Regions from separate parts of the Homo sapiens genome. Here regions 1 and 2 are each linked to region 3. Evidence: promoter capture Hi-C in human tissues and cell types (Jung and others, 2019). All regions are on one chromosome and are shown on one strand. The core of a region is centred on a gene start or on the middle of the fragment in contact, and the rest is flanking DNA. Distances in the headings are between cores, read along the strand shown.

Evidence for each region. Contacts are between HindIII fragments. The study calls those that stand out against the background at their distance.
Region 1: a contact is called between a fragment that was not itself captured here and the fragment with the promoter of TSR1 in region 3, in 1 of the 25 tissues and cell types used here (H1 embryonic stem cells).
Region 2: a fragment that was not itself captured here is called in contact with the fragment with the promoter of TSR1 in region 3 in 2 of the 25 tissues and cell types used here (heart left ventricle and stomach).

Annotation. Positions count from the first base shown.
Region 1 is chr17:4,102,945-4,107,531 of GRCh38, forward strand. It overlaps ZZEF1 (zinc finger ZZ-type and EF-hand domain containing 1), which reads right to left. Exons shown (of 55, transcript NM_015113.4): 7 at 2,749-2,865; 8 at 1,689-1,867. Among named protein-coding and RNA genes, the nearest start is that of ZZEF1, 38 kb to the right of the region's middle. The HindIII fragment of the contact is 5,712 bases long and covers 1-4,587 here.
Region 2 is chr17:1,325,412-1,329,972 of GRCh38, forward strand. No RefSeq gene overlaps it. Among named protein-coding and RNA genes, the nearest start is that of TRARG1, 48 kb to the left of the region's middle. The HindIII fragment of the contact is 9,860 bases long and covers 1-4,561 here.
Region 3 is chr17:2,333,891-2,338,575 of GRCh38, forward strand. It overlaps TSR1 (TSR1 ribosome maturation factor), which reads right to left and starts at 2,567. Exons shown (of 15, transcript NM_018128.5): 1 at 2,441-2,567; 2 at 2,147-2,250; 3 at 1,621-1,840; 4 at 1,370-1,504; 5 at 582-1,006. The coding sequence starts at 2,537. SGSM2 (small G protein signaling modulator 2) reads left to right here and starts at 3,611. Exons shown (of 24, transcript NM_014853.3): 1 at 3,611-3,855. The coding sequence starts at 3,799. RefSeq lists an enhancer at 2,735-2,844 and silencers at 3,075-3,204, 3,235-3,544, 3,645-3,754, 3,855-3,954, 3,985-4,294. The HindIII fragment of the contact is 7,910 bases long and covers 1-4,685 here.

The sequences.
Region 1 (4,587 bases), core at 913-3,412, 1.8 Mb after region 3:
AATGTTTTCCTTTTGTTTTAATAATAGAATGTACACCTGTTCACCTATGATATGACCTAGAACTAGAACATTACCCCATTCCTTCCTATCCACTGCTCCCTGCCTGAACAACCATTAATCTAAATTCTATTCAGCTTCCAGACACTACCTGCTATCCCTTCTATCCAGCCATGGCTGCTCTGGGCTGTTGACCAGTGCAACCCCCAACCACCCAAGAAAATAACCTTTCAAAATTTAGGGAGGAAACTAGATTTACAGGACACCAATTGTCTAACTTAAAAATTTAAACAGGCAAAAGAAAAAAAAAATTAAACAGGCTGGGCATCATGGCTCATGCCTGTAAATTCCAGCACTTTGGGAGGCTGAGGTGGGAGTACTGCTTGAGTCCAGGAGTTTGAGACCAGCCTGGTCAACATGGGGAGAGCTCATTTCTAAAAAAAAAAAAATTTTTAACTAGCCAGGTGTGGTGACCCATGCCTATAGTCCCAGCTACTCAGGAGGCTGAGGCAAGAGGATCACCTGAACCTGGGAGGTGGACGCTGCAGTGGGCTCAGATTATGCCAGTGCACTCCAACCTGGATGACAGAGCAGGACTCTGTCTCAAAAAATAAATAAATAAAAATAAAAATAAACATAAAAAGAAGCCATTAAGTCAGTCACACTAAGACGAAGGTAGAAACCTCACGGCAGAAGCCAGGTGTGGTGGCTCACGCCTGCAGTCCCAGGATTTTAAGAGGCCAAGGTGGGAGGACTGCTTCAGCCTAGGAGTTCAAGACCAGCTTGGGCAACATAGTGAGACCCAATCTCTACAAAAAATTTTTAAAAATTAACCAGGTATGCTGGCATGCACCTGTGGTCCCAGGTACTCGGGAGAGTGACACAGGAGGATCACTTGAGCCTGGGAGGTCAAGGCTGCAGTGAGCCGTGATCATGCCACTGCACTCCAATCTGTGCAACACAGCAAGACACTCTCTCTCAAAATAAATAAAAGGGTAGAAATGTCACTGGAATACTGCCAACAGGATGAGACCCAACACCACATATTGTGGAGTCCAGGAAGGCTGCACTCACAAGTAGAAGTGCTGCACTGCAGTCTTTTGGGAGTGACTTTATGGGCTCCCATGTTGAGAAGGATTATAAGGCCCCATCCTGGTTTGGTAGAAAAGTGCTCATATGAATTACTGCTAGGCCCAAGGGGGGAAAGCAGTGGCAGACAGGTGTCCAAATCCTTCAGAGCAGCTATCACGGGAATGCAGAGGAATGCATTCTAAGACAAAGATCCCTTTGCACCGTATCTTGGCTAGTTTCCTCCCTCCAACAGGTAAGAACTACTCCAACCCTCTTGGCCTACACAATGAGACACTTCAGTACTTCACCAAAGATGGCTGTGTTCAAATGGCCACCAGACCTGAGTAATTTTGCAAGCAGATCATGGGAGTATAGCCTTGTGGACAATCAAGTGTCCTCTTCTGGTGATACTGCCATCACATAAATGAACCTAAATCCCCCTTCTCCCTGCCAATCCTAGTAAGGTCTGATACTCAGAGGATACGTTCATCCAGGAATCATGGTGTAACTATAACAACCCAAAAAGATGAGAAGATACCAGGAGGTCATATGGCGAAGAATGGTTTTACGATTTGTCCACTGTTGACATTTCTATCACCCCCATGTTTTACCATATTTACCATATTTGAGGAGCAGGTTCTGTCTGACTGACGCCATGGACAAGATGAGGGATGAGGCATCATACTGCGTGTCCAGATGGTCAGTGATGGTGCATAGAGAGCTCATGACTTTGGCAACACTTCCTCTTGCGAGAGCAAAAGCCAGAAGAGTCAGTTCTACCTCTGGGGTAGAACAGCAGCTATAAGCAAAGAGCAAAAACTTTTCACTTCTTAAAAACATGAAAAAATCCAGGTAGCTCAAACCCCATGTAAGTGATCAACACAAGTAACATTAACCTGCCATATGCTTTCTACAGGTTTATCCGAAATATTTTTCAAAATCCTTAAGGTAACCTAAGGAAAAATTAAATCAATCCAGAGAGCCAGGGAATGAAAGCCTCACTTCTATAATCTTTAATCTTTAAATATTAAATAATACCAATACGCTACTGTAATAAGCCTCTGCTATTAAGAAGCCTTGGGTAATGAGCTGGCTTGACCAGAGAGTTGAGGGTTTATGCTTGAAGCACTAAAAATGTATCACACTGAATTACACTTCTTTGCTTTTAATTTAAACACATTATACTGAAACGTTAAAAACTGTCTAGATGGCTCAGGGACTGGTTTGACCTCTAATGCAATAATGTCCTCAGGGCTCACTGAGGCAGAAGTGAGTGTCCCTACACAAAGTGGTCACTGCTATCAAGCTATCCAGGTGCCCTTTCCCAGTTCTGTAGGTAATCAGGCTCCCTGGACCTGCATGTGAAGGTCAGCAGGTTCTGAGTGAGGGAAGGCTATGCCAGTTGGACTTTGAGACATCTGTTCTATCAGAATCACAGGACTACTCCCCTTGGGCCCTGCAACACCCCTCACCAACCTTCCCAATTCTTCAGGTCAGGTGATACTGCTAAATAGTGGACTTTAGATGAGTGAACTATTATGTCACTTTCTCTTTAGCTGCTAAAAAGCAACCATTTTTAGTGGTGATCGTTAAAAGATTAATATATATTTTTTAAAGACTTAACAAGCATACGTGCACTCCATTCCTCACAGAGTTTACCCTCATCAGCCTTGATTTTACCTAGTTATCCTTATGAGGAAACTGTCCACTTCTTCCAGCACATTAGGGGAGAGGAAAGTTGAGAAATCTGTAGATCCTGGTGAGAGAGAGAGTGGAGGCATGTGCCGCAGCGCCTTCCTAGAAGAGGAAAATGTAAAATGTAATCAGAACAAAACCAGACCGAATTTAGACAAAAAATAAACTGTTAGAAGCTTGTTTTGACTAATCCCTTATAAACAGACAGTGTTCCCACAGAGAAGCTGGCACACAATATAAACTGGCCCTTCTTTTTTTTTGAGACGGAGTCTCGCTCTATCACCCAGGCTAGAGTGCAGTGGTGCGATCTCGGCTCACTGCAACCTCCACCTCCCAGGTTCAAGCGATTCTCCTGCCTCAGCTTCCTGAGTAGCTAGGATTACAGGAGCCCGCCACCACGCTTGACTAATTTGTATTTTTAGTAGAGACAGGGTTTCACCATCTTGGCCAGGCTGGGCTTGAACTCCTGACCTCGTGATCCACCTACCTCGTCCTCCCACAGTGCTATGATTACAGGTGTAAGCCACCGTGCCCAGCCTAAACTATCCCTTTTTGCCCAGGAGTCACAGTGCTAAGTAGTTTAATAGGGTTTTGTGTTTGTTTGTTTCTTTCTTTCTTTTAGGAGTTCTGCCTCCCTCTGTTGAATAAAACTTATTCAACTCTCTAGAATCCAGCTTTCATGTTAAGTAGTACTAGAAAAACTGACCCAAGAGGCAGAGCAGCTTGAGGCTCAGTAGAAAATTTATTTTATAATTTGTTCAGCAGCAACAGGGAAAAAAAAAAAACAAAAGAAAATTTTATAGCTAGGATCTGAAGATCTATGGTATCTAAAGATGTGCCATGAATGTTATGTTCTCTTAAACAGATTAGCACATCACCGTCTCCATTCCTGCCATGTTTCTTGGCCTTTCCACCTTAATGTCTGTTTTAGTGTTTCCCTTTTCTTGTCTTTGCTTACATTTATCTTTCTGAATCCCCCAATAGCTTTACCTACTCTAGATTAGCAGTCATCAAAAATTTACGCAACAAATGACTTCTGAGCCCTACTGTGTGCCAGCAACTGTGCTAGGTGACTGAATGTACCATGAAAAATTTCAAGGTATTCTGTGAATGTATCAAAAGTAACTCAAAATTCTACAACTGATAGTCGCTTAATGATAATGGTAATGAAAATCCCTGAAACAATTTCATTTCTACATTTCAAAATAGAGACAATAAAGCAAAGCAAACACTGTCAGCTCGCACTCTGCCCTAGTTCTGTTCCTGTCTACACAATGAGCCATTTTGGGGTTGCACAAACATGGCAGCTACACACAGATGCAGCTGATCAGTGAGGTTTAATGCACACAAGTAGCATGCGATCATTTACTGAATTTATTTCCACTGATACAGGCAACACTTCTGTCCCAAAATATTCTTTTCCTTACCTATTTTTCCTCATTGATATTTTTTCAATAAATCTTTAATTTTAAAATAGATTTAGATCACTAATCTTAAAAAGGCAGGAGTGCATGAAAATATCATTGCAGATGAACTAGTAAAACTGAGCAGGGACACAGACTTTAAAATCTGTCCATTCTTCAACCACTTGCCACATCTTCAAAAAAAATATAGAAACCTCTTCCTTTTCCTGAAAATCCAGTCCACAAGATGGGACTGTGCAGTGCAGACATTTGTATGTGTCTGGGGAGTAAGGGGGAGTCGTCATGGTGGCCTACAGTGAGGTTTTAGAGCCTGAGCAGGGTGAGAAAGGTGTCTTCACAAAGGTACGGCCTGATATGGAATGCAGGCACCAAGTGAGGCAAGAAGGGTGGCCTGGCACAG
Region 2 (4,561 bases), core at 521-3,020, 1.0 Mb before region 3:
GGATTAAAGGCGTGCGCTACTGCACCCGGCCTTGATCCATATTTTCTATAATAAACACATATTGATTTTGTCAGAAAAAAATGTAATAAAAATGCTTAGATGCTAGACCAGTGGATTGATCCATGAAAATTTGCCATTTTCAACAGAAGATTGCTGGGAGCTTTGGGCTAAAATAAAATTTCATACCATAATCAAAGACATTCAAATAATAACAATATAGATTCTTTCCTGGAATAAACAACTTCTTTAAGGCAAATGTCCACATTTCCTTGGAGTTAAATATTAATCTGATAGAACTCAGCCTAGGAGATGAAATTTAGTTTATGTGAAATTTTTATGAACTAATAAATGGGCTGGATCAAACAGCAGGACCAGAATAGAGTCACAAAGAGGTGTTACAAGATCAAGCATTTACTGTGAATTCTCCATTGCTTTCTTAAAAGGGTATCAACTTGGATGAGGCACTTACCTACCTAGCGTCTACAGCATAGCACCTACACGCCTAGACAGTGTCCCGGGTGGGAAGCCGTGCTGGAAGCGGAAAGCGGCTGTGAGAAGGGAAATTAGCAAGACCCTTATCCGAGGCGAGCTGGGAGAGCCACTCTTGGGTTCTCTTTGCATAGGTCACCTTCAGCAGGAAGTTTAAAAGCTGGAACCATGTTCAGTTAAATATAAATATCAAGTCGTGCTTGATGGGGTTCCAGAGGAGCCACGGCCCAGACGCCATAGTCGCCAACTGTGCACCACCATAAATGATCGGATATGATCCGATGCACAGGGCTCACGGCTCCATTAATGGTTCAGTGCTCCAATCTCCTACCAGAGTGGAGCTTCTGAAGTGCTCTTGGCTAAACAGAACAGTCTCCATCCATCCATTAAGAAACATGTTTTCAATACTGATGTTTTCAAAGCAACCTATTTCTCTTGTTAAAAACATAATTCAAATAATTTAAAAATGCAGTCTGGGCCGGGCACAGTGGCTCACACTTGAAATCCCAGCACTTTGGGAGGCCGAGGCAGGAGGATCACTTGAGGTCAGGAGTTCGAGACCAGCCTGGCCAACATGGGAAAACCCCATCTCTCCTAAAAATATAAAAATTAGCCTGGCATGGTGGCGCCCGCCTGTAGTCCCAGCTACTCAGGAGGCTGAGGCAAGAGAATCACTTGAACCTGGGAGGCAGAGGTTGCAATGAGCCGAGATTGTGCTACTGTACTCCAGCCTGGGCAAAAGAGTGAGACTCCATCTCAAAAACAAAAAAGAAAACAGGAAGGACCATTTAGGTAGTGTTATGGACTGAATATTTGTGTCCCTCTAAAATTCATATGTGGACGGCTGGGCGCGGTGGCTCACGCCTGTAATCCCAGCACTTTGGGAGGCCGAGGAGGGCGGATCACGAGGTCAGGAGATCAAGACCATCCTGGCTAACACGGTGAAACCCTGTCTCTACTAAAAATACAAAAAATTAGCCGGGCGTCGTGATGGGCACCTGTAGTCCCAGCTACTTGGGAGGCTGAGGCAGGAGAATGGCGTGAACCCGGGAGACGGAGCTTGCAGTGAGCAGAGATCGTACCACTGCACTCCAGCCTGGGCAACAGAGCAAGACTCCGTCTCAAAAAAAAAAAAATTCATATGTGGACATCTGAACCTCCAATGTGATGGTATTAGGATGTGGGGCTTTGAGAGATGATTCGGTCAGGCAGGCAGAGCCTTCATGAATGACATTAGTGGCTGTTTTTGTTTTTTCTTTCTGGAGATGGAGTTTTGCTCTTGTTGCCCAGGCTGGAGTGCAGTGGTGTGATCTTGGCTCACCACAACTTCTGCCTCCTGGGTTCAAGCGATTCTTCTGCCTCAGCCCCCCGAGTAGCTGGGATTACAGGCGCCCGCCACCACACCCGGCTAATTTTGTATTTTTAGTAGAGACAGGGTTTCTCCATGTTGGTCAGGTTGGTCTCAAACTCCCAAACTCAGGTGATCCACCCACCTCGGGCTCCCAAAGTGCTGGGATTATAGGCGTGAGCCACCGCACCTGGCCAAGCTTAGTGACCTTTTAAGAAGAGATATAGGGGGCCTGGCGCGGTGGCTCACGCCTGTAATCCCAGCACTTTGGGAGGCCAAGGTGGGTGGATCATGAGGTCAGGAGATCGAGACCATCCCGACTAACACGGTGAAACCCCGTCTCTACTAAAAATACCAAAAAATTAGCCGGGTGTGGGGTGGGAGCCCATAGTCCCAGCTACTTGGGAGGCTGAGACAGGAGAATGGCCTGAACCCGGGAGACGGAGCTTGCAGTGAGCCGAGATCACGCCACTGCACTCCAGCCTGGGGGATAGAGCAAGACTCCGTCTCAAAAAACAGAGACACGAGGCTTGCTCTGTCTCTCTGTCTCTGCTGTCTGCCAGGTGGGGACGGAGTGTCCATCTGCAAACCAGGACCCTCGGCCGACGCTGGGTCTGCCTGCACCTTCACCTCAGACTTCCCAGCCTCCAGAACGGTGGGAAATATAGGTTGTTCAAACTACCCAGTCTATGGTAATTTGTTATAGTAGCTTAAACTAAGAAAGATAGTTTTTGTCTTTGTTTTCTTTTTAAAGTGTACAATTCTGGCTGGGTGCGGTGGCTCACGCCTGTAATCCCAGTACTTTGGGAGGCCAAGAGGCCGAGGAGGGTGGATCACCTGAGGTCAGGAGTTCGAGACCAGCCTGGCCAACGTGGCAAAACCCCGTCTCTACTAAAAATACAAAAATTAGCTGGGCGTGGTGGTGGGTGCCTGTAGTCCCAACTACTAGGGAGGGTGAGGCAGGAGAATCCCTTGAACCTGGGAGGCGGAGGTTGCAGTGAGCCGAGATCACACCATTGCCCTCCAGCCTGGACGACGGAGTAAGAATCCGTCTCAAAAAGTAAATAAATAAATGGCACAATTCAGTGGCATTGAGTACATTCCCATTTGTGTAACTACCACTTCTACGTGGTTTGAAAACACCTCATGATTCCAAAAGAAATCACCATACCCGTTATGCAGTCCCTCCCATAGGTTTTAAAACAAGGAGGAAGTGGCCTGGCACGGGTCTCTGACCCAGTACCCCACAGAGACAGCCGGAAGGACTCTGAGCCAGTACCCCACAGAGACAGCCGGAAGGACTCTGAGCCAGTACCCCACAGAGACTGCTGGAAGGACTCTGATCCAGTACCCCACAGAGAAACACTGGAAGGACTCTGACCCGGTATCCCACAGAGATAGCCGGAAGGACTCTGACCCTGTACCCCACATAGATAGCCGGAAGGACTCTGAGCCAGTACCCCACAGAGACCGCTGGAAGGACTCTGATCCAGTACCCCACAGAGAAACCCTGGAAGGACTCTGACCCAGTACCCCACAGAGATAGCCAGAAGGACTCTGACCCTGTACCCCACAGAGATAGCTGGAAGGACTCTGAGCCAGTACCCCACAGAGACAGCCAGAAGGACTCTGACCCAGTACCCCACAGAGACCGCTGGAAGGACTCTGATCCAGTATCCCACAGAGAAACACTGGAAGGACTCTGACCCAGTACCCCACAGAGACCACTGGAAGGACTCTGACCCAGTACCCCACAGGGACCACTGGAAGGACTCTGGCCCGGTACCCCACAGAGACTGCTGGAAGGACTCTGACCCAGTACCCCACAGAAACCATGGGAAGGACTCTGACCCAGTACTCCAGAGGGCCCACTGGAAGGACTCTGACCCAGTACCCGACAGAGACCACTGGAAGGACCCTGACCAAGTACACCACAGAGACTGCTGGAAGGACTCTGACCCAGTACCTCAGAGGGCCCACTGGAAGGACTCTAAGCCAGTACCCCACAGAGACCGCTAGAAGGACTCTGACTCGGTACTCCACAGAGATTGCTAGAAGGACTCTGACCCAGTACCCCACAGAGACCACTGGAAGGACTCTGACCCAGTACCCCACAGAGACAGCTGGAAGGACTCTGACCCAGTACCCCACAGTTCTAAGGAAGAGGGTTAGTCCACGGAGCTGCAGAGGTGCCCGCTCCGGCTCTATGGGGTCAGCAGGAGGTGACTCAGGACCACCTCTGAAGATGGGCTTTGGGTCCTGAGCTCATGCACACAAGCAAATTGGTGTTAAAACCCGACAGCGTTTGCTTGTATTCCTTTCCCCAGTCACTCAGCAACCACTTAATGCAGACAGTGTGCCAGATGCTGAGGCCACTGCCCCGGGGTGAGTTATGAGGGGGTCAGCCTCTCCTTCCTTTGCCTTCCCATCCCCACCGAGAGAGGAGAAGCAACTCCGGCATGGGGTGGGAGGGCAGGACGTTGGGAGGCAGAGGGAACTCCATAGAGCTTCCCCGGAGACTAGGGAGTGGTGGGGAGGACAGGCCACTGGTGCCAACCTGTGACTGCTCCCGCCTATGTCCCCTCCCTCACAGTTCCCCTGGGAGTGCCAGCCCCTTGACCGGTGGGATGCGGCCCACCAAAAACCCAGGGCATCCTTAGCAGAGACCTCTCTCAGACACTGGCAGCTTCAAGGGATTACGTGGCTCAGTTGGCAGCATCTCAG
Region 3 (4,685 bases), core at 1,317-3,816:
GTCTCTGCTTGGCTCTTGAGGTCTTTCTTAATCTGCTCCCACTCCTATCCATTTATTACGTACCTCACTCCCATCAAGCTGATTTCTTCAAGGTTCACATAAACCCTTTGATCCACCACTGTGCCTAGGTTCATTCTGTCTCTTATCTTCTAGGATATTCTTTTATCCCTCTTCAACTCATAAATCACATTTATCCTTCTCAACACCTAGCTCAAGTCTGATCTCTTATGTGAAGCTTGCTAGTCTACTTTCTCAACTTCCACTGCTGGTCCGCACTCTAACCATATGCTATCTCAATCTTTATTTCACACATGCCATTTTGTTCCAGCCCAATTAAGTCCCTTGAGGAAAGCAACCACATCTTGAGTGTGTTCTATAAACTCAGAGCCAATCACAGTGCAGACTACCTAGAAAGTGCTGGATAAATATGTGATTTATCAACCTATTTATAACTGACTATTGCCTTACTTCAGACTAGCAGTCTCCTCATTCACCTAAGTGTACAGACTATCTTCTCTGAATTTAAGTTTCCTTCCTGTGCCAACTTTCATATGAACATGAATTAAGAATATCAGTCTTACCTCCATTGCCATGTCTGGGTCCTTTTGGGGTTTAATTCCTCTAGGATTTAAAGGGAAAGGGTCTCCGGGGGCATCTATCTGTTTCATCTGGAAATCACCATATCCAACGATATGCAGCAACCTATTGACATTCAGAGTCTGCCCTCGAACATAGCCTGAAATTTTCAAGGTGCCCACCAAGTTATTCTCTTCACTAGGAACAAAATCAACAGCATGGGCAAATAGGTAGGCCCGCCGATCTCGAAAAGCAAGATGCTGTTGCTTCTGGTTAGCCAACTGCCTAAGCAGCATCCCTGCCTCCTGTTGAGTGTCTAACAAGAGGAGTTTGTCATGCGGAAAGCGCTTCTCCACTGCTTTACTTAGCTTCTTCCTGGTATCTATTTGTTTCTTCAGTGGGAGGCCAGAAATCCCCTGGACAGCTAGTGCTGTAAGCGAAAGAGAAAACGCTTCATGACCTACTGCTTCATTACATAAAAATCCCTCTGCAGTTCACAAACAACCTAATAGCTCAGTTGCAAGCCCAGAGATCACTGGGAAGCCCAACACTGAACTACCCTGAAGGAATTTCACAGTGAAATCAAACTTCATATCCTTGTTTCTCTGGGCAAAGGACAGCCAAAAACAAAAAGACACCCTGAGTGATAATCTGTAAACAATGGATCAAGTTTAATCCATATGTGTACATCCCACCACCAGCTGAATATGATCCATCAGTTGTATTCCTGTATCAAATACCAGGCATAGTGCCTGACAAATTAAAGGTGCACAATAAATGCTAACTCACTTACTATAGGTCGGAAGGCCCTGAGCAAAGAGGCAGGAAAGACAGTAATCACCGGTGCTGTCCCAGCCTTCTAGTGGATCAAGGAGGAACAGGATGGTATCAGCTACTTTAGCCATGTCTAACACAACGTGCAGATCCCCTGCAGATAGAAGACACAGTAAGAAGAGGTGGTTGGCACCAGCACATTATTCTAAAAAAAAAAAAAAAAAATACCACTACTCAAACATAATACAAAATATTGGTGTATACTCTAACCTGGCCTTGCTGAGGTGAAAAACCACCGATGTTTCAAGCGGGGGCACAGCAGCATAAAGTTCTGGGTGTTTCCCAATTCATTCAAGTGTACTGTTCCAGTGTCCCTATCTTGAAGCAGCTGCATGGCCTCTGGCAGGGAAATTCTGCTGTGCAGGGGCACCACCAGTACCTGATGAGGAGGGCCATCCTTGCCACCCAGCTGTCTCTTCTCTGCCAGAACCTGAAAATAGAAAGATATCCGAGAACATCTCAGTGTCTCAGTACTTCACTCCAGCATTGCATTTCCACTCCCACAGATGCTCCCCCTACCCAAAACCAGCATCTCTCTAGTAAAAGACCACAGGTATGCCAGCGGGGTGGCAGGAATTCTGACCAAAGCAAAGAATGCTAGACCTGCACGCTCGACACGTGCTCTAGGGCTATGCTCTGTCCCTGGACCCTCCTCCCGGTCTCATTTTCCACTTCGAGGCATTAGCCACCTAGAACACCAGAGAAGCCGCATTCTCCCAAATCCCGCTCCTCTCACCGCCTCCTTCTTCTGCTTTCGGAGCTGGCTGGCGCGATGCCTCTGGTCGACTCTGCTGAGTTCTTTTCTCACCTTCTTGCTTAGGGTTTTCAGTGCCAGACGGCCTGAATGGCAGATTAGAAGGGGCTGGTGTGATCGGCCCCACAAGGTCAAGAAAAGGGACTCCTCTCCGCCCACCTTAGAAAGGGCCTTTCGCGTGGAGCCCAGACGGGAGACAGAAGCTCAGTCTGGGCATGAGGAAAAAGAGTTAATAACGGCCAAATAGCCCTTATTCCTTCTACGTTATCTCCTTACCCTTGCCGTCCCGCTGTGCAGATCCCCGACCCCGATGCCGTCCGCCTTTATGAGCTTTATTCTGCTGCTTGAGCGGGCCGGGGCGGTGGGCCGCCATGCCGCAGCGCGCGTGTACGGAGTCAGCACTGCTTCCGGGCCAGGACAAGCGCTTCCGGTCCCCTCCAAGGGGGCGGGCCCTCCAGGGAGCGGGACTCCCTGCGCCCTCTCGCGAAGGTCTTTTCCAGCAGCTCGTGAGAGCGCCGTGTTAGCGGGTTCGCCAAGCCGCGCTGGGAACTTTTCCCACTTCGCAGTGTGTGGTTGGGGGCTTGAAGGCGCCGGATGTAGACTGTCGAGGCTCGGGCTGTTGGTCTAGCAGGGCTGTTTGTACCCCTTGCATTGTCATTTTTTTGCGCTATAAAGCTGCATCACGTAGAAGCATGTTGACTGGAAGGCTCCATTCGTGCCGAAAAGGCCTAAGCCCTTCCTGTCACCTAGATTCGGGCACGTTGCTCTTCCGTTTGCAACGGCATGTTCTTTATCACTCTGAGCAACCTTTCTTCTCCCTCGATTCCCTAGCGAGGCTTGGGAATCGCGTGGAAGACACTTCTCTCACCTTGCCCGGTTCCGTACCAGCTCAAGCCCGTCCCTGTTACTCCAACCTGCGCCCCGCCTCCCACGGAGCGGCCGGGAAGGACCTTGTGGGACGTGGCGACCCGGCAAGGGGGACTGGCCGCGACCCTCCGGCCGTCGGGCTCGGGCGGCTGCGCTCCCACTAATCTTCCCAGAAACTTGACAACTGCACGGCGACGGCCGGACGGGGATTCAGAGGGGTCACGGGGCCAGGCTGCACCGGCTTCGCCGTGGGCAGGCTCGGACCGCAGGGGACCCCATGCCCGAGCCCCGGCCCTTTCCGTCCCGTCGGGAGAGGGAGCAGGCAGAAGTCAGGGGAGCTTCAGCGGGACCGAGGCTCGCTCTCAGCCGCGGGGCCGCGGGCTCCAGGGCCAGCGCTCACAATGCGGCTTCGCGCCCTCCATGCGGGAGCGGGTGCGTTGCCATGACAGCGACCCCCGTGGCGCGCGCCCGGGTCTGCCGCCCCTAGGCGCGCACGGCCTCTCCCCGCCCCGATCCCCCGTCGCTGTGCGCAACCCCCCTCCGGCTGTGGGAAGGGGCCGGGCCTGCCGCCTGACGTCTGTGCGGGGCTCGGAAGATGGCTGCGGAGCCGAGCACCGGGCAGTGGCTGCGGCGGCGGCGGCGGCGGCGGGCCGGGAGCGCGGCGGGCGGGGGCTCCGCCTTGCGCGTGGGGCGCTGAGCCGAGAGGCGCGGAGGCGGCGAGGGCGCGGGGGCTCTGAGGACCGCTCGGCGCCGCCTCCTGCCACACCATGGGCAGCGCAGAGGACGCAGTCAAAGAGAAACTGCTGTGGAACGTGAAGAAGGAGGTAAAGTCGAGTCAAGAACCCCGGGGGGCTCGCGCCCTGGCCCGCGCGGCCCAGGGGGCAGAAAGGTCCGCGCCCACCCCCCGGCGCGGGCACCCGGGCCGAACCTGGGCCGGGCGGGGCGGGTCCTGGACGGGCTGCGCCTCCTTCCCCTTTCTCGGATGGGGGAGGGCAGCGCCCCTCTGCCCGGGGGACCCGGCCGGCGCTCCCGGCTTGTTTGCTTCGCAGCCCCGCAGCTCCCCGCCCAGTGACGGCAGCGGCGCTGGGAGCCCAAGGCCGGGGGAGGGGTGGCGGCGATGGCGGGGATGGCTGGATCCGGAGCTGCCCATTCAGTGCCCGCGCCGCCAGGGGAGGGGGCGGGGCCCCGCGCGAGCTCCCGCGGCGCAGGTGGGTGTCGTGCGGGCCGAGCTTCCCCACGTCCTAAGTGGGTGTCGTGCGGGCTGAGCTCCCCCTTGTCCGACGTCCGCTGTGCCTCCAGCTACGGAGTGATCGCTGCCGGAGGGGTGCGCCGCACACCTCAGTTTCTCCCTCCACGCCCACCTCCTTAGCCAGGGACCAGGGGCTTGTTTGGAATGGTTTTTAACACTCGGAAGTTTTTCCCTTTTGAGGGAAGCCCCCCTACTTCAGAAAGAGAAGTAGTCCTTCCCTCTACTAACTCCGTTTACCTTGACCCTGCCCAAAAGCCCATTTCCATTTCGGGTGGGGGGCAGTGACCATGTGAATGACTCACTCCCATATGAGAGCTGGAGAGCTCCAACCCACAGCGCAGCTTAGAATACATTGGGCCTCCTTCCCCTGCCTGCCTCTGTGGCTGTTGTCTGCCTGGTAAGTAA